7 separate regions of the Homo sapiens genome follow, and regions 1, 2, 3, 4, 5 and 7 are each linked to region 6. The links are contacts of gene promoters, found by promoter capture Hi-C in blood cells and fetal thymus (Javierre and others, 2016). All regions are on one chromosome and are shown on one strand. Each heading gives the region's core, a stretch centred on a gene start or on the middle of the fragment in contact. The rest is flanking DNA. Distances are from core to core; before and after follow the strand shown. Region 1 overlaps LOC105378198 (a long non-coding RNA gene). Region 2 holds the start of PCDHA9 (protocadherin alpha 9). Region 3 overlaps DIAPH1 (diaphanous related formin 1). Region 4 overlaps LOC105378198 (a long non-coding RNA gene). Region 5 overlaps DIAPH1 (diaphanous related formin 1). Region 6 holds the start of PCDHB15 (protocadherin beta 15). Region 7 has its middle 11 kb from the start of PCDHA1.

Evidence for each region. The method cuts DNA at HindIII sites, captures the fragments that hold promoters and counts their contacts. A CHiCAGO score of 5 or more calls a contact.
Region 1: a fragment that was not itself captured here is called in contact with the fragment with the promoter of PCDHB15 in region 6 in 3 of 17 cell types (endothelial precursors, M1 macrophages and M0 macrophages); the score reaches 6.9 in endothelial precursors.
Region 2: a contact is called between the fragment with the promoter of PCDHA9 here and the fragment with the promoter of PCDHB15 in region 6, in 5 of 17 cell types (neutrophils, M2 macrophages, M0 macrophages and 2 more). The highest score is 11.1, in neutrophils.
Region 3: a fragment that was not itself captured here is called in contact with the fragment with the promoter of PCDHB15 in region 6 in 2 of 17 cell types (naive CD8 T cells and total B cells); the score reaches 5.4 in naive CD8 T cells.
Region 4: a contact is called between a fragment that was not itself captured here and the fragment with the promoter of PCDHB15 in region 6, in 1 of 17 cell types (M1 macrophages). The highest score is 6.9, in M1 macrophages.
Region 5: a fragment that was not itself captured here is called in contact with the fragment with the promoter of PCDHB15 in region 6 in 1 of 17 cell types (fetal thymus); the score reaches 5.2 in fetal thymus.
Region 7: a fragment that was not itself captured here is called in contact with the fragment with the promoter of PCDHB15 in region 6 in 3 of 17 cell types (M2 macrophages, M1 macrophages and M0 macrophages); the score reaches 8.5 in M2 macrophages.

Annotation. Positions count from the first base shown.
Region 1 is chr5:140,753,161-140,757,013 of GRCh38, forward strand. The region is part of intron 3 of LOC105378198 (a long non-coding RNA gene); the gene reads left to right. Among named protein-coding and RNA genes, the nearest start is that of PCDHA1, 31 kb to the right of the region's middle. The HindIII fragment of the contact is 5,694 bases long and covers 1-3,853 here.
Region 2 is chr5:140,845,975-140,850,193 of GRCh38, forward strand. It overlaps PCDHA9 (protocadherin alpha 9), which reads left to right and starts at 2,408. Exons shown (of 4, transcript NM_031857.2): 1 at 2,408-4,219. The coding sequence starts at 2,522. All of the region lies in intron 1 of PCDHA1 (protocadherin alpha 1), which reads left to right. All of the region lies in intron 1 of PCDHA2 (protocadherin alpha 2), which reads left to right. All of the region lies in intron 1 of PCDHA3 (protocadherin alpha 3), which reads left to right. It also overlaps PCDHA4, PCDHA5, PCDHA6, PCDHA7, PCDHA8 and PCDHA@. The HindIII fragment of the contact is 21,410 bases long and covers 1,690-4,219 here.
Region 3 is chr5:141,518,263-141,522,379 of GRCh38, forward strand. All of the region lies in intron 27 of DIAPH1 (diaphanous related formin 1), which reads right to left. It overlaps LOC124901091 (a long non-coding RNA gene), which reads left to right. Exons shown (of 2, transcript XR_007058971.1): 2 at 719-2,374. Among named protein-coding and RNA genes, the nearest start is that of PCDHGC5, 31 kb to the left of the region's middle. RefSeq lists an enhancer at 2,960-3,254. The HindIII fragment of the contact is 405 bases long and covers 1,875-2,279 here.
Region 4 is chr5:140,734,644-140,738,352 of GRCh38, forward strand. All of the region lies in intron 3 of LOC105378198 (a long non-coding RNA gene), which reads left to right. Among named protein-coding and RNA genes, the nearest start is that of ZMAT2, 36 kb to the left of the region's middle. The HindIII fragment of the contact is 5,793 bases long and covers 1-3,709 here.
Region 5 is chr5:141,576,720-141,580,837 of GRCh38, forward strand. DIAPH1 (diaphanous related formin 1) reads right to left here. Exons shown (of 28, transcript NM_005219.5): 8 at 4,025-4,118; 9 at 2,369-2,477; 10 at 1,796-1,906; 11 at 1,506-1,624; 12 at 756-872; 13 at 37-152. Among named protein-coding and RNA genes, the nearest start is that of DIAPH1-AS1, 20 kb to the left of the region's middle. The HindIII fragment of the contact is 661 bases long and covers 1,025-1,685 here.
Region 6 is chr5:141,242,964-141,246,658 of GRCh38, forward strand. PCDHB15 (protocadherin beta 15) reads left to right here and starts at 2,432. Exons shown (of 1, transcript NM_018935.4): 1 at 2,432-3,695. The coding sequence starts at 2,616. It also overlaps PCDHB@ and the pseudogene PCDHB19P. The HindIII fragment of the contact is 5,789 bases long and covers 1-3,695 here.
Region 7 is chr5:140,773,352-140,777,230 of GRCh38, forward strand. No RefSeq gene overlaps it. Among named protein-coding and RNA genes, the nearest start is that of PCDHA1, 11 kb to the right of the region's middle. The HindIII fragment of the contact is 5,471 bases long and covers 1-3,879 here.

The DNA.
Region 1 (3,853 bases), core at 395-2,894, 490 kb before region 6:
AAGGCAGTGGCAGCGGGGTCCATCCTCATTTGCATGTGCCAGAAGCAGCATGGCAGGGTACATGCTTATTGGCTGTAGCCTGGTGCTCATGGGTGTTCGGGCATTCATAACAGTGGCAGAGACAGCATGGCTCAGGGGTTGGGGTCCCTGCTGGTGACTGACTGCGTGTGTGGTTTGCTGGTGGTGGTGTTAGCATGGGGGCAAGGTGCTGGCAGGTGCAGGACTGTGTGCACCTTCTGTGTGTTTTCATGTAGGTGGAGGTGGTCACTTAGGGCAGTGGAGGGTCCACTCTTCTCTGCCTAGTTTCACTCTGGTGACAATGTTGGTGCTGGGGCAGGGTGCTGGTGGTGGCTGGGCTGCACTCTGACTACAGTGGAAGTATGATGGGGGAGGTGGTGGAGTGGACTGCACTTACCCCAGCAGCAGTGGCAGCAGAGGGTTCATGGGCACACACATGCTGGTAGGACAGGGAAGGTAAAATCCACCCATGCACATATACTCCAGCAATATAGGGGTGGTTGTGGGCCTGGAGTGAGGGGAGGGAGTGGGTGGGCTGGTGCAGTCTGCCAGCGCAGGAGCTATGATGCAGCCCCCCGAGGGCACTCGAGGCTGCATTGCAAGCAGGTGCAGCCAGGCTGGGGCCCTGCGAGAGGTCAGCAGGCAAAGGGGTGCTCACGTCAGACTGGCCTCATTTGGTGGGCAAGACTGCCCTGAGAGCTCATGTCCAACAGTTCCCCTAGGGCTAAAGTCTCTTATGGGAGCAAATCAAGCCTAGGGGGATGGGCATCCCTGATTATGCTTCACTACAGACATTACCACAACAAACCCTCTGGGCTCTGCACCAGCTGGAGTGCTTCCCCTACCACTTCTCTAAGCAGCTCTCCCTGCCAACTCAAGTGTCCATGGTGGTTGAGGGGTCTCCTCCTGCCCAGATTCCAGAGGCATGTGGTGAGGGCAGGTTGCTCCTTTCCAGTTCAACTTGCTCCTTCCCCTGGAGTAATTGGGGGCTTTTTTTCAGGTTTGATATCGGAGTAATGCTGGCCTCGCAGAATGAGTTTGAATGTATTCTCTCCTCTTTAGTATTTTGAAATATTTTGAGAATAATTGGTATTCTTCTTCTTTTTTTTTTTTTTTTTTTTTGGGACAGAGTCTTGCACTATCTCCCAGGCTGGAGTGCAGTGGTGCGATCTCGGCTCACTGCAAGCTCAGCCTCCCAGGTTCACGCCGTTCTCCTGCCTCAGCCTCCCGAGTAGCGGGGACTACAGGCGCCCGCCATCACGCCCGGCTAATTTTTTGTATTTTTAGTAGAGACGGGATCTCACCGTGTTAGCCAGGATGGTCTCGATTTCCTGACCTCGTGATCCACCCGCCTTGGACTCCCAAAGTGCTGGGATTACAGGCATGAGCCGCCGCGCCCGGTTTTTATTCTTCTTTAAATGTTGGTAGAATTCAGTAGTGAAACTACCAGGTATTGGGCTTTTCTTTGATGGGAGACTTTTTATTACTGATTCGATGTCCTTACTCATTATTGGTCTCTTGAAATTTTTTTATAACTTCATAATTCAATCTTAGTAGGTTGTATGTGTCCAGGAATTTATCTGTTTCTTCTAGGTTATTCCATTTGTTGGTGTAAAATTGTATAATAATGTCTTATGATCCTTTTTATTTCTGTGGTATCAGTTATAATGTCTCCTTTTTCATTATTGTTTTGTTTGTCTTCTCTCTATTTTCCTTAGGTAGTTTAGCTAACTGTTGGCTGGTTTTATTTTTTCTCAAAACACCAACTCTTAATTTTGTTGCTCTTTTGTATTTTTTTCAAGCCTCTATTTCATTTATTTATATGCTGATATTTTTTAGACGAGGCCTCACTCTGTCACCCAGGCTGGAATGCAGTGGTGTGATGTTGGCTCACTGCAACGTCTACTACCCAGGCTCAAGAGTTCCTCCCACCTCAGCCTCTTGAGCAGCTGAAACCACAGGCACCTGCCACCACGCCTGGCTATTTTTTTTTTTCATTTTTGGAAGAGATGGTGTTTCACCATGTTGCCCAGGCTGGTCTTGAACTCCTGTGCTCAAGTCATCCATATACCTCAGCCTCCCAAAGTGCTGGGATTACAGGCGTGAGCCACCTCATCTCACCTAAATTATGACCTTTATTACTTCCTTCTCCTAATTTTAGATTTAGTTTGTTCTTGTATTTCCAGTTCCTTGAGGTATAATGTTGGATTCTTTATTTGAAACCTTTCTTCTTTTTGAATGTAGGTGTTTATAGCTATAAACTTTTCTCTGAGAACTGCTTTTGCTGTATCCCATAAGTTTTGGTGCATTGTGTTTCCATTTCTATTTGTCCAAAAGGGATATTTAAATGTCTTTTAATTTCTTCATTGACTCATTGGTTTTTCAGGAGCATATTTACTCTCTATGAATGTATAAAGTTTCTGAAGTTCCTTCTGTTATTGATTTTTAGTTTTATATCATTGTGGTCAGAAGAGACAATTGATATGATTTCAATCTAAAATTTGTCAAGGCTTGTTTTGTGGCCTAACATATTATCTATTCTGTTAAATATTTTATGTACAGTTGAGAAGAATGTGTATTCTGCAGCTGTTGGATGGAATGTTCTGTAAATGTCTGCTAGGTCCATTTGGTCTACAGTGCAGTTTAAATCTGAAGTTTCTTTGTTGATTTTCTGTCTGGATGACCTGTCCATTGCTGAAAATGGATAGCAAATCCCCCTAATATCATTGTATTGCAGTCTTGTTCTCCCTTTAGATCTATTAATATTCGCTTTATATATTTAGGTGTTCCAATATTGGATGCTTTTGTATTTACAATTGTTATATCCTCTTGCTGAATTGAACTTTTATTATTATATAATGACTTTCATTGTCTCTTTTTAGAGTTTTTGACTTAAAGTTTATTTTATCTGATGTAAGTACAGCTATTCTTGCTCTCTTACAGTCTCCATTTGCATGGAAATTCTTTTTTTTTTTTTTTTTTGAGACAGAGTCTTGCTCTGTCGCCCAGGCTGAAGTGCAGTGGCATGAAATTATATTCATTAAGGTGAAGATAAAATGTGCTTTGGCATAATGAAAGAGTAGAACAGATTAAGAGAATCAGAAATCTGTGAGAGATGGGATGAATGTCACAATATTAAAGAGCTATATAGAATAATCAGGATAGACTTCATTAAGAAATTATATCTAACTTGAAGGATGTGAGGGAGTTAGCCAAGCTGTTTTCTTGGGGTAAAACATTTAAGGCAGAGGGAAAAACTACAGCAAATGCCCTAAGGAAGAAGAATGCTTATTGTGTTCAAGGAGTAGCAGAGACGTCTGTGTGCTTGGATCAGAGAGATAATAATTATTAGGAGGAAATGAGGCCAAGGTGGTAATAAAAGAAACAGATAACTTGGGTTTTCTTTGTCACTGTAAGTCTTTGCTTTCCTGAGGGAAATAGGAAGCTAGAGCTACTCTTTTTGGCACAGGAGTGATGTGGCTAAAGGATTACTCTGGCTGCCATATTAGAAATATGATGTAGGAGGAAAGGGTAAAAGCAGGAGGATACAATAAGAGCTATTTCAGTGACCTCAATGAAAGGTTATAATAATTTTGACCAGGGTGGCAGCGGTGGGGAAAATAAAATAATCAGATTATGAATATTTTTTCAAATGTTGAAAAATATCAAACCCATGGAAAACTTACAAAAACAGGACAATGAACGTTTATATAGTTGGTGAATCTAAGCTACCATTTGCCACATTCTTTCTCTCTCTCACTATGTATATTCATTTGGAGATATATGGAATAGATCTGTATCTATTTATATCTATCTATAGATACACACACACACT
Region 2 (4,219 bases), core at 1,158-3,657, 400 kb before region 6:
TATTTTGAATGTTGTGTGGTGGAATGAAAAAAATCTAAAAGTTATTACGAGTTTAGGAAAGTCAAGTTAACACCACCTATGTGGGAAAACAGTTTTTTGGAAAGGTTAAAGTCCTTCCAAGGAATGTGTAGACTATCTTACTTTGATAGTTGTATGTTTCCCATATTTAAAAGTTGCCTGAGATCCTGCAGAGGCCTGAGTAGGCGTTTGAGTTCTTTGTATGTATGAGATCTTTCCATTAATAGTATTTTTCTTAAAAAGAAGTATACAATAATGTTTTGATGATGATTTAAAGTCAATTTATGTTGTAGTTCTATGAATTAAGTAAACCATTTATGTAGAGTGTTGTAAATAGCCTTTTAAAGTGCTTTCTCTTTTTTCTTTTCTTTTCTTTCTTTCTTTTTTTTTTTTTTTTTTTGAGACGGAGTCTCGCTCTATCTCCCAGGCTGGAATGCAGTGGCGCAATCTCGGCTCACTGCAACCTCTGCCTCCCGGGTTCAAATGATTCTCCTTCCTCAGCCTCCCAAGTAGCTGGGATTACAGGTGCATGCCACCATGCCCTGCTAATTTTTTGTATTTTTAGTAGAGTCGGGGTTTCACCATGTTAGCCAGGATGGTCTCGATCTCCTGACCTCCTGATCCGCCCACTTCGGCCTCCTAAAGTGCTGGGATTACAGGCATGAGCCACCGCGCCCAGCCTAAAATGCTTTCTTAGCAAGTAGAGAAGATTGTAATAACCAGTCTTCATTAAACATTAAATAGGACCCTTACAGATCTCTAACAGCATATCATCATGTCAGGAATTATTACTGAGCCCCAGCCCCTGGCTTTAAAATTTGAGGTCAAATAAAGAATATGAGTCACACAATGCAAGGCAAGATAATGTAACAGGTACAAGAGGTAAATCAGAATGACGTTGAAGTTGAAAGACAATCATTTCCTATTTGAATTTTTGAAGAAATACTTGAAGGGGCATGGTGTGTTTCAGTGGTTTTAAAATAAGTAAGTTCCCCCCGGGAGAATATTGAGAATGATAGACATTTCTTGGAAAGAGAAAACATAAGGAAAGTTGAAGACACAGAAAGCATCAATATGACAAGTAGAAAAGTCCACTTTGGTTAAAACACACAGTCTGCAGAGAATGAAAGCAGGAAAACCAATGTAAGAAGATCTCTTGATTTCTGAGTAATAAACTAAAGGGCCATGAGTGATTAAGGAATTTGGCCACTCTTTAGAATTAATTGGGAGCTATTTAACTACCTTGAGCAAAATAAATCACGACTTTTGAAAGAAGGTTGAACGGGAAGACAAACTCAGAAGCTCCTGCAGTAATCAAGGACAGAAGCAATTGTTAAATGCACCTCTTAGGCTGTTATCAGTAGAAATACGAAATAAAAGATAAATATGCAAAAACATTAATGGCACAATAAACACTCACGGTTTTGCCTTTAGACTTGAGATACACTAAAATCTAGATTTAATTAATCGACTTGGACGTTGGAATAAGATAGTAAAACTCACAACAAAACTTTGTAGAACTTAGTCAGGAAAAGAATCTCAAGCATAGCTTTAAAAACAGAAATTGCCCCGAGTACTAAGGATGAGCAATAATGAAATTAAAACATATTGTAATAACATTACACAAACTATATTGGAGACTACAAAGAAGAGATTATTCATAGATTATAAAGCTTGGAAAGAATCAAAACAACACATTTCTGGAAACAGATTGTATAAATGCTACAAAAGAGAAAAATATATTTTCTCCCCACGCAACACAAGACCTTAAAGTCAATTCTCGCTTTTCTTGCAATATTTTATACCTTTTCAATTCATAGAATTACTCAAGAAAACTACCTCAGTTGGTTGCTACTTTTTGTTGATTCCTTTTACCAGACATGACTAAGTTTCTTTTTCATCAGTAGATTTCTGGGCTCCTATATTCACTAGAGATTGCAACTCCTGGATTTCTCTTACACTAGAATCCTATTTCGAGCCATATGGGAGATTCTGAATTCCAGAACAAAAGAATTTTGTAATTTAAAATTCGTGATTGCTCAATGGAATCATTTTAATTGTTACTTCATTTCTGTCGTTATTTAAAACTTAAGTGGAGAGTTTTCTCAGGGATAAGAAAACCACAATCAAGGTCATACAAAACTTTTAGAGGCAGTCAGTCTGCTAAGAAGGCTCCAGCAAGAGAAACGGGATCTTCTGTTTCAACAATCATTACTTAAGAAAAAATTAAGAAAATGAAATAAGTTTTGCAGAATAACTGTGAAATTTTTATTCATGAAATATGTACTTACACTTTGGGCCACGTGATGTCACTCTTTGCCGCGATGTTCTCTCTGAATCCAGACAAATACAGCCCTTTTCCCATGGGAAAGAGGCTCAATTCTTTTTCACTCTCTCTGTGCTGAACGATGGCGAACACAGCAGAATGGGACTGACGAAATCAGATGATTTCTTCTAATTTGGAGGCAATTTTCACTAATTAGAAGAAGACTGAGTATTTGAAATGTTATACTCAAGTCGAGGAGATCCAGAGGGTCAGCCTCTACTGCTCTCGCTTCTGATCCTCGCAATGTGGGTGGTGGGGAGCGGCCAGCTCCACTACTCCGTCCCGGAGGAAGCCGAACACGGCACCTTCGTGGGCCGCATCGCGCAGGACCTGGGGCTGGAGCTGGCGGAGCTGGTGCCGCGCCTGTTCCAGTTGGATTCCAAAGGCCGCGGGGACCTTCTGGAGGTAAATCTGCAGAATGGCATTTTGTTTGTGAATTCTCGGATCGACCGCGAGGAGCTGTGCGGGCGGAGCGCGGAGTGCAGCATCCACCTGGAGGTGATCGTAGACAGGCCGCTGCAGGTTTTCCATGTGGACGTGGAGGTGAAGGACATTAACGACAACCCTCCAGTGTTCCCAGCGACACAAAAGAATCTGTTCATCGCGGAATCCAGGCCGCTTGACTCTCGGTTTCCACTAGAGGGCGCGTCCGATGCAGATATCGGGGAGAACGCCCTGCTCACTTACAGACTGAGCCCCAATGAGTATTTCTTCCTGGACGTGCCAACCAGCAACCAGCAGGTAAAACCTCTTGGACTTGTATTACGGAAACTTTTAGACAGAGAAGAAACTCCGGAGCTTCATTTATTGCTCACGGCCACCGATGGAGGCAAACCCGAGCTGACTGGCACCGTTCAATTACTCATCACGGTACTGGACAACAATGACAATGCCCCAGTGTTCGACAGAACCCTGTATACGGTGAAATTACCAGAAAACGTTTCTATCGGAACGCTGGTGATTCACCCCAATGCCTCAGATTTAGACGAAGGCTTGAATGGGGATATTATTTACTCCTTCTCCAGTGATGTTTCTCCAGATATAAAATCCAAGTTCCACATGGACCCCTTAAGTGGGGCAATCACAGTGATAGGACATATGGATTTTGAAGAAAGTAGAGCACACAAGATCCCAGTCGAGGCTGTCGATAAAGGCTTCCCACCCCTGGCTGGTCATTGTACACTTCTTGTGGAAGTTGTGGATGTAAATGACAATGCTCCACAGTTGACTATCAAAACGCTCTCGGTTCCTGTAAAAGAGGACGCACAACTGGGGACAGTTATTGCCCTGATTAGTGTGATCGACCTAGACGCAGATGCCAACGGGCAGGTTACCTGCTCCCTGACGCCCCACGTCCCCTTCAAGCTGGTGTCCACCTACAAGAATTACTACTCGTTGGTGCTGGACAGAGCTCTGGACCGCGAGAGTGTGTCCGCCTACGAGCTGGTGGTTACCGCGCGGGACGGGGGCTCGCCTTCACTGTGGGCCACGGCCAGGGTGTCTGTGGAGGTGGCCGACGTGAACGACAACGCACCAGCGTTCGCGCAGTCCGAGTACACGGTGTTCGTGAAGGAGAACAACCCGCCGGGCTGCCACATCTTCACGGTGTCTGCGCGGGACGCTGACGCGCAGGAGAACGCCCTGGTGTCCTACTCGCTGGTGGAGCGGCGGTTGGGCGAGCGCTCGCTGTCGAGCTACGTGTCAGTGCACGCGGAGAGCGGCAAGGTGTACGCGCTGCAGCCGTTGGACCACGAGGAGCTGGAGCTGCTACAGTTCCAGGTGAGCGCGCGCGACGCGGGCGTGCCGCCTCTGGGCAGCAACGTGACGCTGCAGGTGTTCGTGCTGGACGAGAACGACAATGCGCCGGCGCTGCTG
Region 3 (4,117 bases), core at 827-3,326, 270 kb after region 6:
ATACATTTTTAAAAGGTGAATTTTAGGTATGTAAATGATAGCTCAATTGGAAAAAAAAAAAAAAAAAAAAGACTTCCTGGAGATCTGGGAAAGCTGGAGTGGAGAAAGCAGTACCGGAATGTTTTAGAAGCAGGACCAGATGAAAGAGCCGAGCACTCCTAAATAAAGACCAAGACTGGGGCAGCTGCATGACTGGAATGAAGCGCCTTTTTGGACCAGCAAAAAGCTTTAGGTAGGCAGAAGCCAAACAGGATCAGATAGCCCGTCTTTTTTTTTTTTTTTTTGATGGAATCTCAGTCGCCCAGGCTGGAGTGCAGCAGCGCAATCACAGCTCACCGTAGCCTCAACCTCCCAGGCTCAAGTGATCCACCCACCTCAGCCTCCCTAGTAGCTGGGACTATAAGCATGTGCCACCATATCTGGCTATTTTTGTATTTTTTTGCAGAGATGGGGTCTCTCCATGTTGTCTAGGCTGGTCTTGAACTCCTGGGCTCAAGCAATCCTCCCACCTTGGAACCTAAAGTTCTGGGATTACAAGCATGAGTCACCACAGCCTGCCAAAGCCCAAGTCTTAACCAGGTCTTCTCTCCCTGCAGAGCCATGACCCAGAGCTACTGTTTTCATCCCAGGAGAGGCTGCCCATAGATCAAGCAGGGAACACGCAGCATGCACACAGGTTACCAATTTAAAGGTCTCCTCCTCCTCCTCTACTTCCCAGGGGCACAAGAGGTTGTCTACCAAGAGGAGAAAGAATAGTGAAGACCCTGACTGACAGCCACAGGACTTATCTAGTTACAGATCATAGGTATGTGCCCGAGACTGTGGGATTTTCACAAAACCATTTATTGGATTATGAACATAAACTAATGCCCCGTGACTGAGACAAGTGAGGAAAAGGAGCCTACGTGAGTGTGACTATGATGGTCTACATGTGTGCATTTCTCATACTGTCCTTACCACCAAAATCTTCCTCAGGCCTCCTACATTTCCACTCTCTTCTGAAGTACTCCCTCTCTAGACCCCATTTCTCATATCCAGAAGGGTAGTAGTTTCCTATCATTTTATTATTTCTTTGAATTCAGTCTCCAACAGTTGAGAAGACACTGCGACTCTGTGCATGTGTGTGTGTGTGTGTAACTCTAGTGGTATATATATGTTGAAATAACATCTGACTCCAGACCTTGGGAAAAGAACACTGGGCCACTTGTCCTGGGCAACACAGGAGAAGGCAGAGGTCCCATGTGGTAGGTCTTTAGCTGCTGCTTTCTGTGGTTTCTTCCTCCAAAATAAGAAGATACCAGTTGTACCTAACCAAGTGGTGTTTCTAGACTTTTCTGGACTCAAGAAGCTTCTGATGTATTACAAACTTCATAAGAACCAGGAGCAGAGAGTAGGTAGGGAGAAGATCAAAATTTCCCTTTTAAGCCTTGAAAGCCTATACACCAGGGAGGGTGTGATTTGGCCTAAGGTCAGGGGATGAGAAAGCTCTTGTTGGAACAGGTCTCCCAGCTTTCCACTCACTCACCATTATGCTCAGCAGGTTGAACAGTCAAGAAAAACTGACCTCCCCATGCTTCCCCCAACTTACTCACTTGTTATTAGACTATTGAAAAGTAGCCATAGAACCAGATAAATATTTTGACTACAAGAGAACAGTCCCACAGGCTGTGTGGGAAAAGGGAACAATGTTGAGATACTGGTGAATGCTCTCTGAGGACAGATTCCTAGAAGTTAGGGGTGGGCTAGGATAAAAACACCAGCAAAATCAACCATATAACGCAAGTTTTAAAAAGGTTAGTGATTTGAAAAAAGACCTTTATAAAACGTAGGCTAGGAACTATTACTAAAGAGGAAGTGCTCTTGTTAATACATTAAGCTTCCTTAGGGAAGAGGAAACTAGGACAGATGGGGCAATCATCATCACACTAAATAACTCATTCTTGTCTCAAACTCTGCTAATTATGTTTCTTGTCCTATTTACAAAAGTAGGGGGGAGAATAAGCAGTGGTACAGGAAATATTCTTAGCAACCTTCTCTAGATAGGAGGTGATATGGTTTGGATGTATGACCCCTCCAAACCTCATGCTGAAATGTGGACTACAATGTTGGAGGTGGGGCCTAGTGGGAGGCACTTGGGTCATGGGGTGGATCCCTTATGAGTGGCTTGGTGCCCTCCCCACAGTAATGAGCTCATACAAGCACTGGTTGTTTAAAAGAGCCTGGCATCTCTCTAGCTCCCACTTCCGCCTTGTGATACACCTTCTCCCCCCTTGATTGGAAGCTTCCTGAGGCCTCAACAGCAGATGCTGGCGCCATGCTTTCTCTACAGTCTGCAGAACTGTCAGCCAAATAAACCCCTTTTCTTTATAAATTACCCAGTCTCCAGTATTTCTTTATAATAATACAAAATAGACTAACACAGGTGGTCATGAGAGCACCTTCCTGAAGCAATGTCATTATGTCCGACTCTCCTTGCTGGAAGGTATGAAAGAATATTTCCGGCCCATACTGTGGGTTCACTGCTGTCTCCTGTTCAATCACGCAGGCTGAGGGGAAACAGGCCTGGACTTGGAGTCACAAAAGTGGGCTACAGTGCTCTGTCATTAGCCATGTAGACCTGGGCAAGACTTTATCTGTTTTTTATTTTTATTTTTTTGAGATGGAGTCTCATTCTGTCACCCAGGCTGAAGTGCAGTGGCGCAATCTCGGCTCACTGCAAGCTCCGCCTCCTGGGTTCATGCCATTCTCCTGCCTCAGCCTCCTGAGTAGCTGGGACTACAGGTGCCTGCCACCACGCCCGGCTAATTTTTTGTATTTTTGGTAGAGACAGAGTTTCACCGTGTTAGTCACCTTATCTGGTTTTAATCCCTTTCCCTATGAGAAGGTTAGATACTAATCACTGGAAGTCTTTAGAGTCTTTCCAACTCTATGGTTCTGTTAGATGGATGGAGCTTATAGGGAAGCTGGGAAATGGTAGAGGGAAGGAAAGGAAGAGTTGAATTTCTTTCTTCCCTTGGCTTTTATCCCAGTGAGCAAATGACTTGTATACAAGAGGCCACAATTCAGACATGGAGATAAAGTTGAGTCATTAAAACCACAAGCTGACTCAATCATGGGCCTGAAATAGCAGCTGTAATACAATCACATGGATTCTTCCCCTTGACACTCCAACCATTGTTCTCCCACACCCTGCGGATCACAGGAGTTTACATGTTGCTTTTAATGAACCAAGCCTGATAGTAACTCTCCTCTTCCAACTCCTCAATGAGTCTTTGTATACTGGTCACTCCCCCAGGTCTCCAGAGACCGGAAGAATTTAACATTCCTTTAAATTCTAGGGAAAAAGCTAGTGTCTTTGAATAGGGACAGCTGCCTCTCTGGAAAAAAGGAGGGCTATGAGGCAGATATGTTCCACAGTGCCTCTGTTTTTTTAGCTCAAAGCAATCAGCCAAGAGGAATAGTCAGAGACAGCCAGGCAAGGGGTGGAACAGCCAAATTCAGTAGCTGCATAGAGAAACCTATAGCCAGTGGAGCCTTTGTATTTTGAGAATGGGGCCATCTAAGTCCAGCCTCTCTCTCCTCTTAATCCTGTTGTCACTGCACAAAAAAAATATTAGAGCTGGAAGGGACCCTGCAGACCATTCATTCTAGTCCAACTCTCATTTTATACCTGAGGAACTGAGTCCCAGAAACATTAAGTGACTTGCTTAGGATAACACAGACAGCATCAGAACTAGATGTGACTTTAGGTCTTTTGATCCCTACCTAGCCCTGTGTTCTTTGTAATCTACTCTGATGGCTATCCTCCTGTTTAATGTGAGACCGCATCACATCACTTTACATGATGTGAATGCACCAGGGTCTAAAGAGTTACCAGAATAACTACAAATGTCTCCCTTGAGATTCTCCCAGATATATTCAAGTGTATTTAGTGGACCCAGAGCCTAGAAAGATAAGCTTATAGGCTAGAGCCACTTAAAATATATGTAATTGTCATTTCACCTACTTTCCAATTTAGTATCTCCTAGTATAAGTCTCCTCCTATTCCCTCTTGCATGGGAGAGAGTACTTTGACTAATTCAGGTCCTCTGCTGGAAGGTTAGTTTCCAACAAAATT
Region 4 (3,709 bases), core at 1,060-3,559, 510 kb before region 6:
AATTACCATTGCCATTGCCTCAAGTACCTGCGTTATTGACTGATTACCCTGACGTTGGGAATATTATGTATTCTGGAGATCCTATGTTGTGCTACAATGCTTACCCTTGTATTCCATTTTTAGATACTTCTAAAATTTCTCATCCACCTCCAAGTCCAAAATCCCTTTCCCAGAGCCTATAATCCTCACTTTAGAAAACATAGTTACCATGCTCCTTGTTAATCAAATACTCCATTACCTTAAAGAATACCCCCAGACTCTAGATAGTGACCCTCAGCAATTTGTATGGAATTTATGATTTCTCTCTTGGTTTAATTTTTTTATAACTAAAATGGACTCCTCTGTTTCACTCCTCACAATTTTAGTTTTATTGACCACTTCTGTTACCAAACCCACACCTTAACCCTTACCCTTTTGAGTAAAAGGTAATTTTACTATTCTTTTGAAAAGGTTTTTGTAGAGATTAGGTCTCAGTATATTGCCCAGGCTGGTCTCAAACTCTTGGGCTCAAGCAATTCTCCCACCTCAGCCTCCCAAAGTGCTGGAATTACAGGTATGAGCCACTGCACCAAACCAGAAAACTGAGTTTTAAAAAGATTAAGATTTTTATGTCTATGTAGCTTTCTCCTTAGATTCTGGGACTCCCACCCTTGCTACTGTACATAACCACTGAATGCCCAAAGAAAAAATATCAAACACTGACAACAGCTCCTCTTTGTTAGATATCATGCCTCTGCAGGCTTCTAGAAGGCTTGCAACAAAACCAGTTCGTGGTTCACTCACATAATAGATATCTTGTTCATAAATGAACGTATAAATTGGCATACCCTTGGAGGTATAACTTGTGCCCCTTGAGGACACACTTTCCTATATAGAATTGAGTCAGATCCCCCAGTTCAAGAAGAGGCACACAGATGCATAAACAGCTGGCAAGTTGAAGGACTTTGCCTTCTAGGTCATTACGTTGCCCTCTTTTCCATCCATCTCAATCATAAAGAAAATCTTGCTTTCCGGTAAGCTAAAAGAGAGCTACCAAGTGGATATCAGGATATGTGGTAGCATAGTTTTTGGGGTGTAATTTTTCTCAGCTACGGAGTATACACTAACAGAGATACGATAAAAAAAAATGCCGGCCACCATAGGACAAATTGCTGAAAATGCTGCAATAAGTATTATGACACAGTAGAAGTCCTTAAATTCTCTCGCTCAAGTGGTTTTAGACAATCAAATTGCACCAGGTTTTCTCATTGCTAAACAAGGGGGAATTTGCATGATAGCCCACACCACTTGTTGCACTTATATCAACATTATAGGAGATTTAACAACCCATGTAGGTAAGATCACCCAACAGGCTGCCTGGTTACAGGAGGTACAAACCACAGATCCCCTTAATAACGTTTTTAGCTGACTCATTGCAGTATTAGAAATTACTTCCAATCCATCTTACAAACCCTTGTCATTATCATATCACTATCTTGTTCCTATTTTTGATAGTCAAAGTACTTATAAGATCTATAACCAACTACTTCAAGTCTGTCACTAAAACCAAAGTTATGGTAGCACAATGCATAGAAATGACAGACAACATAAACATAAACTTACCTTCTCAACTTTTCTGTTGTTACTGTTTTTCTAGTCTCAAAGGTTCAAAGGGTCTTAATAGCTGTCTGCCTCCTTCTTGCCTGGCCTAAAATATTCAACTGGTTGTAAGTCTCCTAGCCACATGAGTCCCACTGACAGACTAGATAGACCTGGGGCAGGTATCCACACCATCCTGGGAACGACATGGGACATGTTAGAAAATTTAGCCATCAATGCTGCCTATGGCAGATTTCAGCCTAAAGCTGGAAAGTGTGAAATAAAACTAAAGTCCCTAAGCCCCTAGGTGAAACAGAATGGACTTCTTGTTGCAAAAGAGACCCCAGAAACTTTGAAAACTGCATTCTATGGCTTTGGCAAGGCAAGAGGTCAGTCACACCTCAACACTCCCCTACCTTGTTAACTGCCTCAAAACTTTCCTTCCTACAATTAAACAGAAACGAGTTCCTAAAAAACTGTCTGGAAGATTTCTCCCTCAACCTCAAGAGACCTCTTGATGTCATGGCTGACCTCCCCTCTTTTATCGTGGTTTCACCATGACTACTGACCAGCCTTATTAAACATTCCATTGTTATACTGACCACCGACCACAGACTGATTGCACCTAGTCCACAGAGGCTGTGCACAAGATGCCTTTGTGTTCTGTTTCACCTTGTTATATATAAACAGCCACGTGCCACTTCACTTTACTATTAAATCCCCACCCCAAAATGAACATGGAACATATGTAACATATATGTTTATTCTCTTTGCATGCATTAGGGTTTTCTCAAATATTCATAGATTCTCCTATAAGCTACTGAATATGTACATATAGCTCATCTTGTTGGGCATAAGTCCCAGCTTCTCCCTTTTGTCTCTGAAGCAGATGCTTTTCATTTTGGCTGGATGTTTCATTTCCCAACCTGCAGATTGTAACCATTTATAGGAAATAAAACTCTCTTTTTTCTTCTTCCTCAAATCTCATGATCTTTTGTTAATACTTCCCTTCCCAGCAGGGGGGATTATATGAGAAGACTGGACTTAGACCTCTACCCAGTGGTAATGTGGCCATCCTCACTGTGGTGTCAGGGGAGCCAGAACTTCCATGCTTACCCAGCAGTAACAATGAGCTCCCTTCTTCAGGTGGCAATGGAGGCTCTGTGGGGAACCTGGACTTCTGCCTGCACCTGGCAGTAATTAGGTGACATCTCCTTCTTTCTCTGTTCCCCCTTCTGCCTAAATGGTATCAGAGAAATCCCACTAAAACAGAAGGTTTAAATAGGATCCAGAGTAGCGGAATATAATATGAACATATCCAGGTTTTAATGAAAAGTTACTTATCATACCAGAAGATCTCAAACAGAATGAAAAAATGACAATCAACAGATGCCAACATTGTGATGACAGAGATATTAGAATTATCTGACAGAAATTTTAAATTAGCCATTGTAAAAATGCTTCAATAAGCAATTATAAACATTCTTGGAATAAATGAAAAATAGAATGCATAAGCAAAGAAATAGATGATAAAAGAAGAACTAAATGGAAATTTTAGAACTGAAAAATATAATAACTGAAATAAAAACCTCAGTGGATGGGGTGGGTGGGTTCAGCAGCATAATGGAGGAGGCAGAAAAAATAACAAGTGAACTAGAAGATAGAATAATAAAAATTATCCAACCTAAACAACAGAGAGAAATTAGACGGAAAAAAATGAATAGACTTTGATAAGTTGTGGACAGAGCAACCGCTAACATGTTATACAAAGAGATGCACTAAAAAACATAGTATTAACTCAAAATAGAATTTTAGAAAATATTAAAGTAAGATGAAGGCACGAAGAATAAAACAGAGAAGTGAAAATCCAAATGAACAGGAGGCCAGGTGCAGTGGCTCACACCTATAATCCCAGCATTTTGGGAGGCCGAGGTAGGAGGATCACTTGAGGCCAGAAGTTTGAGACCATCTTGGGTGACATAGTGAGACCTCGTCTCTACAAAAAAATAAAAATAAAAAAGCCCCAAAATGAACAATTAGTAAAATACAACATAGATTTCCTTTAGTAACAATTCTCCTCATATCCTTCCTTATTCTTCTTTTTATTCTTCTCTATGATTACCTATTAATG
Region 5 (4,118 bases), core at 105-2,604, 330 kb after region 6:
AATACTTGGAGGAGCCAGATAGAAGAGTATGCTTACCAATTAATCCCTCAATCTCAATCTGGAGGTGCCGGCACTTGAAGTCAGGATCAGCCCCGTTCTTGTGCAGAACTATCTGGGAAATACATTCTTCAATCAACTTATAGTACTGAGGTCTACAAGAGAATAAAAACAGGGTCATCAAAGGAAAATCAAAATATAATTTTCAGAAGTATTCAGGACCAAGAAAACGTAATTGCTCTGACAACTGAGAGACCTGGAAAAACTTTTGTAAAGTTAACACAAGTATTGCTGCCATGCTAAGAAAACTCCTTTTTCCACATCAGCTACCCTACCCTATCTACTTCAAATAATCAAAACTTCTTGCCATCCGCTCCTAGTGCCAATACTTTCCCATCTAAAAATTTGCGTTTGATCCTTCCTGTGATGGATAGTGCTATTGCTAAATCTATACTTCCAGGAAACTAGAAAGAATTTTAAATTGCCACTTCTGTTTGCTAACATCTTCATCCTATTTACCTACTCCCCTCCAAAAACAGAACGGCATTTCACCTTATACACTCTGACCTCTGCCATAGGGATGCCTTTGAGTTGGATTAAAGAAATAAGACAACTTCCTTTATATCGGTGACTAATGAACCCTAATCTTGGGTCTTTGTCTTTACATTTTCCTTTTACAGAACAATCTTTGAATTTAAGGAATTCACTCTCTCCACTTAGGCTCAAATTCAAAACTTCTCATAAGCACAGCATCTTACCTGGCCTCATAGTCATTTCGGACCAAGAGTAAGTGCTGCAGGATGGAAAGGAAGTGTGGCTCTGCCTTTGAATCCTTCACTGTGTTTAAGAGAATCTGAAAGACTTCATTAAAGTCAGTGGAAAAGGGAAATAGGCTAAGGAAAGCAAATATGCAGAAATTATGTTTGACAGGTGGCTTATTTAACTCTTGAAAAAGCTAGGGAAAAGTAGCAAGACACCACTTCCATTCTACTGGCTGTTCTTCCTGTAAACATCACCAGAAACTTTAAGCTTTCTAAAACGTCCTTTAAGGGACCAGTGAATTGGGTGGTACTATACACACAGAGGATTCCTAGTAAGTACTTGGCTTGAAGATCAGGCAGTAGACAGAAAATAAGAGGTAACTGCCTCAAAGTCACTTACTGAAAATATTAACAGGTAACTAAATTACTCCCTCTGTCAGTCCAAACATCTCTAAAAGCCAGTTCTACATCTTAGTAAGCTAAGCTATCACATTCTAGGAAGTTTACACTGATTTTGATGGCTTCCATGCTCAACAACCCTCAGATCACCTTTACTGACTTCCCTGATCTATGATAAGCTAAGTAAAGCCAGCGCAATAAAAATACACCTGCCTTATTTAATGAGAAGACACATAAGCCTGATGCTCTGTTCTGAGTCATCATCTCCCAAACCATTCCACACAGGGATCAGGGAACTAAATACAATGAATGTCTCATCTGCCTTGAACCTAGTCAGCAAAAGGATATTCCATCTCCATGCGAATGTCATCCAGCCGTCCCTTCAGGTCATAGGAATCCTCTTCCCCTTGTTCATCAAACACATTTAGTTGCACTCTCATATCTTCATTTTCAATCTCTCGAAGGTCCTGTCAACAACAAAAGTAGAAGTCAGGGAACCCAAAAGTATCCTCTGTGGTTAGAAACCTAAGCTTTTCAACCTGGTTTTTAATTGAAAACCAGAATTATCCCCGGGATTATTGGGGCTGTAGAGCAAGAAGGAACCAGTCTAGCCTTTCTAATGAAGTGTAATATCTTACCTGCAACACCTGATGTAGCCCCAAACGCATCAGTTCACTTCTGATGTGAACTCGGAAGTCAAGTTCCTCCGCTGGTGTGATGAGAGCATTGATCAGCTGTAGGCATCCAACCTAAAATAAGAAAATTCAGCAGCTATGTCAATGCTAACTCCTGGAGATCAAGAATCCATTTTCTTTACATGCATTCTTAGGTCCCCAATACAACCTGAAAGATACAATACAAAAACTCTAAAGATGACTTTTCTACTATAGCAATGAGACCTGGTTTGAGTACAGATCCGGAGAGCCTAAACTCTAAATGGTTTCAAGGATTTGAGAGTATATGTTATTGTAGGTCTTGGTTTTCCTAGATTGTAAATAGATATCATGCCTTTTTCCATCTCATAATGAGGAAAACAGTTCATTCTTTACCTTCTTAGAAAGAAGGTTAATCATTTTCCCTTCATAACAGATTCTGAAATGTAAAATATATAGTTGGGAGGCACTCCATGTATTTTATTAAAAGGTCAAATGAATTTAAGTCTGTCCATCTTGAATTCTATTCTTGGGCCCAGTTTCAGGGGATATACATGCCTTCAGTGCAATAGTGGTTCCACTTTTTAATCCATCCAGCAGCGGCTGGAAACGTTCCACTTCATCCATCTCAGCTCTTTCTGTCATTGCCTCCAAAACCCTTTCATTCCTGCCCAAGAGAAAGGAAACGGAGAGAACTTTCCAGGTACTGTGACACGGACACGTATAATGAGTAAATTACACAGGGGCACAGACCGATTAGGAAACAGGACATTATCAGTGTTCCGGATTTCTCACATTATTATTCTCACCACTCAGTTTCCAGAAACTGCTGAAAGCTAAGGACCATCTCTTCAGGGAAATGCATTCCCTACAATCCATCCCTAGGCTCCTGTCCATAAATACCAAATCAAGTCCCCTATTCAATGAAGTATAAATTGATACAACTTTTGGAGGGGCATTTAACAGTACTAATCAATTTCTCATGCATGTAACATATAGTCTACTTCTAGAAATGTATCCAACATATGGGCATAAATGTGAAAGAAGATATGCACAAGGATGTTCACTGCAGTATCATTTGTAAAAATGATCACCTAGAACAGATAGTGAAATCTGCTTTAAAAAATATCTGTAAGTTGGCTGGGCGCAGTGGCTCACGCTTGTAATCCTAGCACTTTGGGAGGCCGAGGCGGGCGGATCACAAGGTCAGGAGTTCGAGACCAGCCTGGCCAATAGGGAGAAACCCCATCTCTACTAAAAATACAAAAATTAGCCAGGCGTGGTGGCGGACTCCTGTAGTCCCAGCTACTCGGGAGGCTGAGGAAGGAGAATCGCTTGAACCTGGGAGGAGGAGTTTGCAGTGGGCCGAGATCGCGCCACTGCACTCCAGCCTGGGGAACAGAGCGAGCCTCCGTCTCAAAAAAAAAAAAGGAAAAAAAAAAAATCTGTAAGTCCAGCAACAGGGGAATTGTTAAATAAATTATAGGCCATACATACATGTATATGGAATACTAAATAGCTACTAAAGATAATAAGGTAGATCTGTAAGTACCGACATAGAAGAAATGTCCAAGATCTACTATTAAAAAGAAACAGGTTGAAAAGAATGATTTAGCTTTGGTTAAACCAAATCCCTCTTCAATAATAAAAATCTATCCTATATATGCAGTTAGTTTTATAGGCATAAGTGTCATTCCTCAGCTCTTAAGATACTATCTTTTGCGGTGGCAGATGTCTAGAATCAAGGGAACGCAATATGTTTGTCTATGCTTAGGAAACGTTCTATGAGACTATACCATGCCATTAACAGTCATTCTCTTTGCAGAATAGGATTTGGCAAAGGGATGAGGCAGTTAAATTTTACTTTATATACTTCTATATCGTTTGAGTTTTAAAAATAACATTGTGCCACTTCTGAATTAAAAAAAAAAAGAATAGTAAAAAGAAACCCTCATCCTAGACAATACAGATATTAATGGAGATATAGGAGACATTTTGCTATACCTCTGATGACCAGTGGAACATTCAGGATAGCACCCATCACTTAGGAATTGTTCTTAAATTTTAAGATGCTTAGTGTTCACTTCTGGGAAGAAACACAATCTTACCTAGTATTTATGACCGAGAGGACACCCAACCAACTCAATTGTCCTCTGAACTAAGAGAAAATGATAAAATTGAAAATGGAGAAGAAAAATTATTCCAGTCACATACATGTCCTCTGGCTGCGGTAGAATACAAAGAGCAGAAAGCAGCTTAGCTGCATCAATCATCATGTTGGGAACAGCAGGATCCATGGCTCTGACCA
Region 6 (3,695 bases), core at 1,182-3,681:
GAGTAGCTGGGATTACAGGCTCCTTGTTTTAGTAGAGATAGGGTTTCACCATGTTGGCCAAACTCAAACTGGCTCCTGAGGTCAGGAGTTTGGCTGGTCTCAAACTCCTGACCTCAGGTGATACACTCGCCTCTGCCTCCCAAAGTGTGGCATTACAGGTGTGAGCCACCTTGCCCGGCCATACGAGCATCTTTAGTGATTATTAGATTATCTCAAGATTTTAAAATCATAGCTCCCTTTTGTAGCGTCTATCTAGCCCACCTGATCTTTTTCTGGAAAATTCTCCCTGTCTTTGGCTGAAGTGTAATGTTGCAGCCACATTTATTTTATATGACCCACCTCCCTCTGTGATTTCAAACACAAAAATAAGATGATCCTAGCTGGCCTAATCTGATTCTCTCTGTTTAAAAAAAAATGGCTTTAAGAACCAGATACAACATAGTCTCTTTGTTAGGAACATAAGCAGAAAGTGGTGTCATATTTGGCTAAACACTTGCAAAGAAATACAGAACATCAATCTATTGAGAGACAAGAAAAAATAAGGTACCAAAAGAATGACCTTGTCATAGATTTTCCTGTTTTAGATTTTCCAGTCCCTCCCAAGTCTTTTTCCCTTAGGTTGCTGGAGACAAATTTGTGCTCTTTAATAAATTTCCCTCTAATTAAGAGATCTAAGTGAGGTTTTTGTTGTCAAAAGCATGTTTAGATATTCCTGCATTGTTGGTAAGTTAGACCTTTCTTCCTATTGGGTTTTTATTGTGGCTTTTCATATTAGTATGACAACATTTGGGATCAAGGAGGTTGTAAAATATTAGTAGTCTATAAGGGACATGCACTAGCTTTTGTCAGAATATACAATTTTGAGAAAAACTGAAGGATCTTTCCAATGGTACAGTCTTTGAAGTGTTTAATAGAAATTCTTAGAACATTTTATTATATAAGAGTTTTGAATATCGTAAGTGTCATAATAACATTACTGTAAAAAAAAAACCTTGACAATGAAAAATGTGTGTCTAAAAGAGACATAATCCTTATCTTTAGGGTCATCATAATCTTGTTATGTTCTTTCTTTCTGTCATATAATATATCCCTTGCTTATGGGTAGCTAAGTTGTTTTGCCACTTAATGAAATGACATTTTAGGTCATTCTGAGTTATTTCACATTACTATTTAAAGGGCATAGGAAATAGCTACCTTATGAACATGTTGTCTTTGTTTATCCATCTTATATAATGAACTTGAATCCCAGAAGAAGAGGGAATTTCTACAGTAGGAGGAGAACCTATCTGTCAGAATGTTTAAATTAATTGTGATTTATTAATGGATCCATTTAACAAATATTTATTGAGCACGTACCATGTGCCAGGGATTATTTTAGATATTGGGGATGCAGCAGTGAACAAAATGAAGTTCTAACATGTGAGGTTGAAACAGAAAGGAAACAACTAAATAAGTACATCTATACTACGTCAGATAATAAATACGAGAGAGACAAGGCAGGGCTGGGTACAGCAGCTCATGCCTATAACCCCAGCACTTTGGGAGGCTGAGGCAGGAGGATTGCTTGAGCTCGGAAATTTGAGACCAGCCCGGGCAACATAGCAAGACCTCATCTTTACAAATAATTAAAACATTAGCCAGGCATGGTGATGCGCAACTGTGGTCCCAGCTACAGTTGCTGAGGTGGGGGGATTGCTTGAGCCTGGGTAGTCAAGGCTGCAATGAGCAGTGATTGTGCCACTGCACTCCCTCCTGGACAACAGAGCAAGACCCCATCTCAAAAAAAAAAAAAGGAAAAATGAAAAGAAAAAAAAGAAAAAGCAAAGTAAGAGATATAGGAAGTGCCTTCATATGTATTTTTCCACAGTTTAAAATTTTCATAAAATCATAACTCTCTGACTTTATGTAGAAAGGATACCACACTGGAATTAACGTGTAGCTTTTTCTTGATGTAATCCAACCAATGGGAGCACAATTCTGGTACATAGGCTGTCTAGAATTTGAAAGAAATTAAAGAATTCATTTTGTTTTGCTGATAAATTTTTAAGAAATCACGTGGCTTTATGTTATTATTATTACAAGATGACTGATCACTATTATGTCTTCTTTCACTTCTCAATTTCCCTCAGAACACTACACCCAGACTACAGGCTCTGGAGGGTGGGGACCATGTCTGGGTTGTTTACTGATGTATTTCATAATTTGGCACATAGAGACCAATAATACTCCTTTAAATGAAGAAATTAATAATTACCATTGCGTGATATTGTGATTACATCATTTCCTCCCAATTTCCAAACTCCTAATAGAATAGAGAATAGATCAATTGTAGCAATTCGTTTCGAAGCAAAGACAACGCATGGTGGCGCTGCAGGCTAAGGCTTCAAAAAAAGGAAAAGGAAAAAGCCCATGAAATGCTACTAGCTACTTCAGACCTCTTTCAGCCTAAGAGGAAAGCCTGTTAGCAGAGCACGGACCAGTGTCTCCGGAGAATGCTATTCTCCTACATTTCCGAACAGGTTATCAACGCACAGATCGATCACTGCCTCTGTCCCATCGCTCCCTGAAGTAGCTCTGACTCCGGTTCCTTGAAAGGGGCGTGTACAGAAGTAAAGATGGAGCCTGCAGGGGAGCGCTTTCCCGAACAAAGGCAAGTCCTGATTCTCCTTCTTTTACTGGAAGTGACTCTGGCAGGCTGGGAACCCCGTCGCTATTCTGTGATGGAGGAAACAGAGAGAGGTTCTTTTGTAGCCAACCTGGCCAATGACCTAGGGCTGGGAGTGGGGGAGCTAGCCGAGCGGGGAGCCCGGGTAGTTTCTGAGGATAACGAACAAGGCTTGCAGCTTGATCTGCAGACCGGGCAGTTGATATTAAATGAGAAGCTGGACCGGGAGAAGCTGTGTGGCCCTACTGAGCCCTGTATAATGCATTTCCAAGTGTTACTGAAAAAACCTTTGGAAGTATTTCGAGCTGAACTACTAGTGACAGACATAAACGATCATTCTCCTGAGTTTCCTGAAAGAGAAATGACCCTGAAAATCCCAGAAACTAGCTCCCTTGGGACTGTGTTTCCTCTGAAAAAAGCTCGGGACTTGGACGTGGGCAGCAATAATGTTCAAAACTACAATATTTCTCCCAATTCTCATTTCCATGTTTCCACTCGCACCCGAGGGGATGGCAGGAAATACCCAGAGCTGGTGCTGGACACAGAACTGGATCGCGAGGAGCAGGCCGAGCTCAGATTAACCTTGACAGCGGTGGACGGTGGCTCTCCACCCCGATCTGGCACCGTCCAGATCCTCATCTTGGTCTTGGACGCCAATGACAATGCCCCGGAGTTTGTGCAGGCGCTCTACGAGGTGCAGGTCCCAGAGAACAGCCCAGTAGGCTCCCTAGTTGTCAAGGTCTCTGCTAGGGATTTAGACACTGGGACAAATGGAGAGATATCATACTCCCTTTATTACAGCTCTCAGGAGATAGACAAACCTTTTGAGCTAAGCAGCCTTTCAGGAGAAATTCGACTAATTAAAAAACTAGATTTTGAGACAATGTCTTCGTATGATCTAGATATAGAGGCATCTGATGGCGGGGGACTTTCTGGAAAATGCTCTGTCTCTGTTAAGGTGCTGGATGTTAACGATAACTTCCCGGAACTAAGTATTTCATCACTTACCAGCCCTATTCCCGAGAATTCT
Region 7 (3,879 bases), core at 61-2,560, 470 kb before region 6:
AAAATTATCAATTTTATTTCTCAACAAAATCTCCATCAAGTTCAAGACACTTTTAAAATTTATTTTATTTTGTTTTATTTTAAGCTCCACGATACATGTGCAGAATGTGCAGGTTTGTTATATAGGAAAATGTGTGCCATGGTGGTTTGCTGCACCTATCACCTAGGTATTAAGCCCCACATGCATTAGCTATTTTTCCTGATGCTCTTCCTCCCCCACTCCCATGACAGGCCCAGGTATGTGTTGTTCCCCTCCCTGTGCCCATGTGTTCTCATTGTTCAGCTCCCACTTATGAGTGAGAACAAGTGGTGTTTGGTTTTCTGTTCCTGTGTTAGTTTGCTGAGGATGATGGCCTCCAGCTTCATCCATGTCCCTGCAAGGGACATGACCTCAGTCTTTTTTATGGCTGCATAGTATTCCATGGTGTATATGTACTACATTTCCTTTATCCAGTCTATCATTGATGGGCATTTGGGTTGATTCCATGTCTTTGCTATTGTGAATAGTGCTGCAATAAACATACGTGTGCTTGTATCCTTATAATAGAATGATTTACATTCCTTTGAGTATATACTCAGTAATGGGATTGCTGGGTCAAATGGTATTTCTGGTTCTAGATCTTTGAGGAATTGCCACACTGTTTTCCAAAATGGTTGAATTAATTTACATTCTCACCAACAACATAAAAACATTCCTATTTCTCCACAACCTCACCAGCATCTATTGTTTCTTGACTTTTTAATAATCACCATTCTGACTGGTGTGAGATGGTATATCACTGTGGTTTTGATTTGCATTTCTCTAGTGATCAGTGATGTTGAGCTTTTTTTCACATGTTTGTTGGCTGCATAAATGTCTTCTTTTGAGAAGTGTCTGTTCATGTCCTTTGCCCACTTTTTGATGGGGTTGTTTGTATTTTTTCCTTGTAAATTTGTTTAAGTTCCTTGTAAATTCTGGATATTAGACCTTTGTCAGATGGGTAGATTGCAAAAATTTTCTCCCATTTTATAGGTTGCCTGTTCACTCTGATGATAGTTTCTTTTGCTGTGCAGAAGGTATTTAGTTTAACTAGACCTCATTTATCAATTTTTGCTTCTGTTGCAATTGCTTTTGGTGATTTCATCATAAAATCTTTGCTCATGCCTATGTCCTGAATGGTGTTGCTTATATTTTCTTCTAGGGTTTTTATGGTTTTGGGTTTTATATTTAAGTCTTTAATCCATATTGAGTTAATTTTTATATAAGGTGTAAGGAAGGGGTCCAGTTTCAATTTTCTGCATATGACCAGCCAGTTTTCCCAGCACTATTAATTAAGTAGGGAATTCTTTTCCAATTGCTTGTTTTTGTCAAGTTTGTTAAAGGTCAGATGGTTGTAAATGTGTGGTCTTATTTCTGAGATCTCTATTCTGTTCCATTGGTCTATGTGTCTGTTTTGGTACCAGTACCATGCTGTTTTGGTTACTGTAGCCTTGTAGTATAGTTTGAAGTCAGGTAGCGTGATGCCTCCAGCTTTGTTCTTTTTGCTTAGAATTGTCTTGGCTATATGGGCTCTTTTTTTGTTCCATACGAATTTTAAAGTCATTTTTTCTAATTCTGTGAAGAATGTCAATGGTAGTTTGATGGAAATAACATTGACTCTATAAATTACTTTGGGCGGTGTGGCCATTTTCATGATATTGATTATTCCTATTCATGAGGATGGAATGTTTTTCCATTTGTTGTGTCCTATCTTATTTCCTTGAGCAGTGGTTTGTAGTTCTCCTTGACGAGGTCCTTCACATCTTTTGTTAGCTGTATTCCTAGGTATTTTATTCTCTTTGTAGCAATTGTGAATGGGAGTTCATTCATGATTTGGCTCTCTGCTTGTCTATTGTTGGTGTACAGGAATGCTTGTGATTTTTGCACATTGATTTTGTGTCCTGAGACTTTGCTGAAGTTGCTTATCAGCTTAAGGAGCTTTTGGGCTGAGACAATGGGTTTTTCTAGATATAGGATCATGTTGTCTGCAAACAGAGGCAATTTGACTTCCTCTTTTCCTATTTGAATACCCGTTATTTCTTTCTCTTGCCTGATTGCCCTGGCCAGAACTTCCAATACTATGTTGAATAGGAGTGGTGAGAGAGGGCATCTTTGTCTTGTGCTGCTTTTCAAGGGAAGTGCTTCTGGGTTTTGCCCATTCTGTATGATATTGGCTATGGGTTTGTCGTAAATGGCTCTTACTATTTTGAGATATGTTCCATCAATACCTAGTTTATTGATTGTTTTTAACATGAAAGGATGTTGAATTTTATCAAAGGCTTTTTCGGCATCTTTTGAGATAATCTTGTGGTTTTTGTCATTAGTTCCGTTTATGTGATGAATTATGTTTATTAATTTGCGTATGTTGAACCAGCCTTGCATCCCAGGGATGAAGCAGACTTGATCATGGTGGATAAACTTTTTGATGTGCTGCTGGATTCAGTTTGACAGTATTTTATTGAGGATTTTTGCATCAGTGTTCATCAGGGATACTGGCCTGAAGTTTTCCTTTTTTGTTGTATCTCTGCCAGGTTTTGGTATCAGGATGGTACCTCTGTCCAGTTCTGTGCACTTGCTGGAGAAGTGTTGTGATCATTTGGAGAAGAGGCACTCTGGCCTTTTGAGTTTTCAGCATTTTTCAGCCACAGCCTGTATACTGCACTGTGGGGATTACCTCTTGGAACCAAGCTGTCCTGTCTCTCCGGCTCCAGGAGGGGAAAAATGTGGTCTAGAGCTATAGTGATGGCTGCCACCCTCCCCGCTACCCCCAGTTCAGTGTCAGGTAGCAGTGTACTTAGCTAGCAGCTGGAGTAATGTTTGCCTTCCCTCCCGCAGGGAGCTCAGTTTTCTTAGGCAGCTAGCAACCACAGTGATGAGGGCCGCCCCCACCTCAGGGAGCTCAGTTGTCTTAGGCAGCTGACAGCCGCAGTGATGGCTGCCATCTCTCCCCCTGGAAGCTCAGATGGCTTAGACAGCAGGCAGCTGCAGTGATGATGGCGGCTTCTCCTCCGGGAACTCATTACCTTTAGGCAGATTCCAGCAAGAGTGGCTGTTGAGAGTCTGTGCAGCTCTGTGGTTGGGACCCAAGGCCCTGGTAGTATGGGCTCACGAGTGGAATCTTCCGATCTGTGGGTTGCGCAGATCTGTGGAAAAAGCACGGTTTCCCAGGCAAGATAGCATACTCATTCACCACCTTCCTTGGTTGGGGGTGGGGTTTGCCCTTTCTCCATGTGGGCCGACGCAGCACCCTGCTTTTTCTTGCTCTTTATGGGTCACACCAACTGCCTAGTCAGTCCTGATGATAAAACCTGGATACCTCGATTGCCAGTGCAGGATTGACATGCTGTTTTGTTTCTTCTCAATTGGAGCCTCTAACTGCTGCTGCTTCTAGTTAGCCATCTTGGTCCCGCCAAGCTCAAGACATTTTTATAAGGGATGATACCAGCCATTTAGTCCGTCTCTAAAGAGCTGATGGTCCTAAGAATTTAACCATGTCAATGAAGAATTGTTTACATTATTAACTGAAGGAAAATGGATGCTCTTTAAAGATTTTTTAAGATTGGGAAATAAAGAAAAGTCAGAAATAATCACACTGGGGCAGGGCATGGTGGCCCACACTTGTAATCCCAGAACTGTGGGAAGCAGAGGCAGGTGGATCACTTGAGGTCAGGAGTTTGAGACCAGCCTGGCCAACGTGGTGAAAACCCATCTCTATTAAAATATAAAAATTACCTGGGCAAGATGGCACACACCTGTAATCCCAGCTACTCAGGAGGCTGAAGCAGGAGAATCACATGAACCTGGGAGGTGGAGGTTGCGGTGAGCCAAGATCGTGCCACTGCACTCCAGCCTGGGCGACAG